2 separate regions of the Homo sapiens genome follow, and region 1 is linked to region 2. The links are contacts of gene promoters, found by promoter capture Hi-C in human tissues and cell types (Jung and others, 2019). All regions are on one chromosome and are shown on one strand. The core of a region is centred on a gene start or on the middle of the fragment in contact, and the rest is flanking DNA. Distances in the headings are between cores, read along the strand shown.

What was found. The method cuts DNA at HindIII sites, captures the fragments that hold promoters and counts their contacts. A contact is called where the count stands out against the background at its distance.
Region 1: a contact is called between a fragment that was not itself captured here and the fragment with the promoter of FKBP4 in region 2, in 1 of the 25 tissues and cell types used here (dorsolateral prefrontal cortex).

What each region holds. Positions count from the first base shown.
Region 1 is chr12:3,057,914-3,060,678 of GRCh38, reverse strand. No RefSeq gene overlaps it. Among named protein-coding and RNA genes, the nearest start is that of TSPAN9, 18 kb to the left of the region's middle. The HindIII fragment of the contact is 4,152 bases long and covers 1-2,765 here.
Region 2 is chr12:2,793,651-2,796,350 of GRCh38, reverse strand. FKBP4 (FKBP prolyl isomerase 4) reads right to left here and starts at 1,381. Exons shown (of 10, transcript NM_002014.4): 1 at 1,107-1,381. The coding sequence starts at 1,211. The region is part of intron 2 of ITFG2-AS1 (ITFG2 antisense RNA 1); the gene reads left to right. RefSeq lists silencers at 333-742, 1,093-1,152, 1,183-1,562 and enhancers at 1,412-1,956, 1,957-2,502. The HindIII fragment of the contact is 5,309 bases long and covers 1-2,700 here.

The DNA.
Region 1 (2,765 bases), core at 36-2,535, 260 kb before region 2:
CCGAGACAGGTGGATCACCTGAGGTCAGGATTTCGAGACCAGCCTGGCCAACATGGTGAAACCCCATCTCTACTAAAAATACAAAAAAATTAGCCAGCCATGGTGGCAGGAGCCTGTAATCCCAGCTATTCGGGAGGCTGAGGCAGGAGAATTGCTTGAACCTGGGAGGCGAAGGTTGTGGTGAGCCGAGATCGCGCCATTGCACTCCAGCCTGGGTGACAGAGCAAGACTGTCTCAAAAAAAAAAAAAAGAATAAAAATTGTTAAAAAGGTTAACTTTGTTAGATGCATGTTAATTATATTTCCTCCGGAAGCTCTCTGAAGAGCAGGTCGCAGAGACCGTCTGAGAGGAGCCCTGAAGATAACAGGGAGAAACAATGAGAAAATGACATCCCCGATCTCCAGTACCAAACGCAGGGAAGAGTCAGAAGGCGTGATTGCTCCTGGACAGCAGGAACCCATGCCGATGGTTTGAAATTGAAATCAAAGTCTCATGAATTCAATAGAGTTGGGTGAAATGAAATTGTGTGACTGTCAATAAATGACCAGAGGATGATGGTTGATAAGACACACAAGGAGTATAAAAGTGAAGATGGCACATTTGAAGCCCTTGCCAGGGTGTCTGGGATCTAAGTAGGTATACATCCATTTATGACATTAAAAAGTTCATTAATGTTTTAATTGGAATACACATATGGGGGGAAGGAGGTAGAAAAAAATATATATATATAGTTGTTTTTATAAAAGAAGAATAAGCTGGAAGTTTAAAAGGGGAGAAAAAAATGAAAACCTTTTATAACAGGGTGTATTTTTTTAAAGGACTTAGAGTTGGAGTTGAATTGGACACATCAGCACGAACTCATTTCCCAGCTCCCACTGGAGTGCACTAGAAGCAGACGCCTGCCTTTAGTTCTCACACGGATAATGTGATTCGCACCATGAGCGCCCAGACATAACATTCAACTGATAACATTTGCCACTCAAAGAAACAGGGCTCCTTGGGGAATAGCTGATTCCATACCTTGGTGCAAGAAAAATCAGAGTTGGCCTGAGCAGACTTTGCTAGAAGTATGTAAGTTAAAAAACAAAAATGTTTAAGGTAGTGTTAAAAGGAAAAAGGACGCAGCATAAAAAGTCAAAGCTGGGCCGGGTGCGGTGGCTCACACCTGTAATCCCAGCACTTTTGGGAGGCCAAGGCGGGCGGATCACGAGGTCAGGAGATCGAAACCATCCTGGCTAACACGGTGAAACCCCATCTCTACTAAAAGTACAAAAAAATTAGCCGGGTGTGGTGGCGGGCGCCTGTAGTCCCAGCTACTCGGGAGGCTGAGGCAGGAGAATGGCGTGAACCCAGGAGGCAGAGCTTGCAGTGAGCCGAGATGGCGCCACTGCACTCCAGCCTGGGCGACAGTGCAAGACTCCGTCTCAAAAAAAAAAAAAAAAAAAGAAAGAAAAAAAGTCAAAGCCAGCCAGGCACGGTGGCTCATGCCTGTGATCCCCACTCTTTGGGAGGCTGAGGCAGGAGAGTCACTGGAGGCCAGGAATTCAAGACCAGCCTGGACAACATAACGAGACCCCACATCTACAAAAAATAAAAAAATTAGCTGGGTGTGGTGGCGCGTACCTGTAGTCCCAGCTACTTGGGAAGCCGAAGTGGAAGGATCCCTTGAGCCCAGGTGTTCAAGGCTGCAGTGACATTGTCTCTAAAAAGAAAAGAAAAGAAAGGAAAAAAAGGCAAAACTGTGATCATCTGATTATCAAAAAGAAAACAAAAATGTAGTGAAAAGCTTGAGTCCATAATGGTACTGGATATGGGTTATACTAAAAGTATATGTGAGCTCCTGAAAATGTCAACTGGTTTTTGGTTGTTTTTGTTTTGCCAAAGCCAATTGTTCTGAAGTGTCCACTTTTAAAACACTGTGCATACCATAGCCAAGTTTTGATTCATAATTAAGCTATGAATTTCTTGTACTTTTTTTTTTTTCTTTTGAGACAGAGTCTGGCTCTGTCGCCCAAGTTGGAGTGCAGTGGCGCGATCTCGGCTCACTGCAAGCTCCGCCTCCCAGGTTCACGCCATTCTCCTGCCTCAGCCTCCCGAGTAGCTGGGACTACAGGCGCCCGCCACCACGCCCGGATAATTTTTTGTATTTTTAGTAGAGACGGGGTTTCACCGTGTTAGCCAGGATGGTCTCGATCTCCTGACCTCGTGATCCGCCCGCCTTGGCCTCCCAAAGTGCTGGGATTACAGGCGTGAGCCACCGCTCCCAGCCCGAATTTCTTGTACTTATGTATTTATATCAGGTAATGAGATTTAAAGGACACTCAGGGATGAAAGATGCACTGAGTTATTTAAAAACAAAAAACAAAACAAAACAAAACAGTGAGAGTTCTATGAATCTTGTTAATTCGGCAGGAAAAACTTGACCAAAGGAAGCCACCCACACTGATAATTGCCAGCCTGGGAGAAATGACTGTAGAAGGCACATCCAGGCCCCACTCCCAGACCCAGTGCCCAGGCTCCAAGCATCTCTCCATACTGGAACAGCACGGCAGCTCCAAATCTGGAACTCATACCCCGATCTGTAACCGTACCTCAGACCTACATCTTCAACTGATTTCAGCCCAACTGTGAGGCTAATTCTGCTTTCTTTCTTTGGATAGAGGCTTAAAAATAAATATAAAGAAGATGATGGACACGAACGTACATTAATACTCTTGTAATACCTTTAAGGAGTAACTACTTTAATAGCTTTAGGTAATAACTAC
Region 2 (2,700 bases), core at 132-2,631:
AGAAAACGGCAGGACGCTGGAGCGAGAAGGGGAAGTCACATGCCACAGGAGAGCCGCTGGAGCAGACGCTTGAGGTCCCCAATAATCTGGTGCAAAGACAGATGCACTTCTGGACCAGGTAAAGGCCCCCTGAGGTGGGTGCCGCACACGCGGAGCTCAGCGGTGGGAAGCCAGGATGAGGACGCAGCAGCGGATGGGGAGAAGGCATAAGACGCAGGCTGGGAATTCACCATCTCTGATTCTCCCTGGAACCTGCTCCGACCCAAGGCAGGTTGTCCTGGCCCAGGTCAAGATGCCCTCCCCGCAGCTCCCCAGGCTATTTGTAGTCGAGCGGTCACTCGGCGGCAGGCTCCACAGCAGAGCGCCTCCTCCCCGCCCCACACCCCGCAGCCCTGGCTCCGGGAGGCGGCGGAGGGGGGAGGGGACTACAGCTCCCGGCATGCCCCGCGCCCGGCCTCCCCGGGGCCGAGGGAGGGGGCGCCGCGCGGCGAGTGGGGACCTCGCTGGGTCCCGGCGTCGGCAGGGGACCCCGGGAGGGCGCCGGAACCCTGTCGCGCCTGCGTCGCACAAAGGCCGAAGGGCCAGGAAAGCACTGTGGGGAGTCGCTCCCCGTCCTGGCCCGTGTTCCACCGCCCGGGTGGGCGAGCCCTGGCACCGCCACCAACGAGGCGGCCCGCGGCTGGCAGCTCCGCTGGGGCCGCGAGGTCGGGGGCGGCGTGGCGTGGGAGGCCCGGCCTGGCCCCGGGCTGCGGCTCGGGTGCCCGCGGCGGTCGCCTCGCCCCGCCCCTCTCCGCCGCCCCGCGCGCGCCGGGGTGGGCACTGCAATCCCGACCCCCTGCCCGGGCCCGGGCGCTGCCGGCTGGGGAGCCTGGGGCCTCGGCCCGCGCACCTAGGCCGCCCCCCTGCCGAGCGCATGGCCGGCCTCGGTGCCTTAAACGACGCAGCCCGGTCCGGGACGGCGATGCCACCGGCCCCCGGCGGGACGGCCGCGAGGCTGCAAAGGCGGCCGCCTCGACCCGTGCCCGGCCGCGGGCTCCGGGCGCGGCGGAAGGGCGGCCCGCGGGGCCCCGGGTTCCGACGCCTCCGCAGGCCCCGCCGCCCCTCACCTTCAGCACGCCTTCGTCCTGTTTGGGGCTGATGTCCACTCCCTCCATGGGCAGCGGCGCCGACTGCGCCCCGCTCTCGGTCGCCTTCATCTCCTCGGCTGTCATCTCCGCGCGGCGCGCCGTTTATCCGGGAGCTGGTGCCGGCGCGAGCGCACTCTGGGCCGCGGGCGGGGGCGCTACCTGCGGGGCGTGCGGGAGGCCGGGCGCGGCGGCACTGACTGCGGACCGCGAGGAGGCTTGAGCACCTCTGCACGCGGCGCGAGAGCTGGGGTAGGTGGGTCAGGAGCGGCTCGGGGAGCGATTGGTCCCGCCCCGCCGCGAGGGAGGGGCTGGGAGGAGCGGGAGCGCAGACAGAGGGGGCGGGGTGCAGAACTTTCTAGAGACGGCGGGACTGAGCCGGTTCGGGCTCAGTGCTGCGGGCGCTTCGGAATTTTTTTTTCTTTTTTTTTTTTTGGTTCTTGCCTCCTTCTGGCTGCCTGCCCCCTCCCCCTTCTCCTGGGACCCTCGGACTCGGGATCTCCCCGGCGGCCTCCCTTGGCCCTTCCTCCCTCCCTCCCATCCCCGCCCGCTTCCCTGTCTAACCGGATTCTTCCAGATTCTTCTCGATCGATCTCCCGACATCACTCCACCAGTCCGCTGCGCCTGCGGCGGGGTGTGGGGAGCGCAGGCTGCGGGATGGCAGTGGCGGCGCCCCCTCCCCGGGACCGGCCGTCACCACGGGCGGCGTGGCCTCTCTGCTATGACCCGCGTAGACCCTTCCCTACTTGGGGGAAAGAGGGCAAGGGCGTGCGCGGGGAGCGGGGAGTGAGTGGACAGCGCTGCCCCGCTGCAGAGAGCCGGGGAAAGCGACCTCGATTTCCCCAGATCCGAGAAGCCCCGGCCAGGCAGCGATGCCTCGCTCAGCGCCTGCAGATGCTGCGAGCAGCGGGGTTGGCAAGGCATGGCCCGCCCAGCTCGGAACTCAGATGGGGCACACACTCAGGGGACCCTTCCCGGCGGTAATAAAACTGCCGTTTCCGCGAATGCTTACAAAGATGGGTTCCCCTCACGAAAAAAGTCACTCGGTTTTCCTAAAGGCCCACAGAAGGAGTATTTTCTTCTCAATGTTTGCTTCCCGAGTGTTTTTCGACAGGCTGTGGAGCGCGCAGGTGCCGGTGTCACCTAAGCTATGGTCGTGGGACCTAGAGAGCCATCTAGAGAGGGGCCTGGTTTTGCTCAGCACCTAACCCCAGTTTAGCATAGTGCCTGGTGAGTGATGTCCCAATAGTTACTGGCTGCATGAATTTTCCTTTTTTAAATTTCTTTTTCCAAGTCTTGGCTGATTTTTTTTTCTTTTTTTTTTTTTTTTGAGACAGGGTCTTGCTCTGTCGCCCAGGCTGCAGTGCGGTGGTGCGATCTTGGCTCTCTGTAGCCGGGACTACAGGCGTCCGCCACCACGCCGACTAATTTTTGTATTTTTAGTAGAGACGGGGTTTCGCCATGTTGCCCAGGCTGGTCTCGAACATCTGGTCTCAAATGATCCGCCCGCCTCGGCCTCCCAAAGTTCTCGGATTACAGGCGTGAGCCACTGCGCCCAGCCTGAATTTTTATTCCA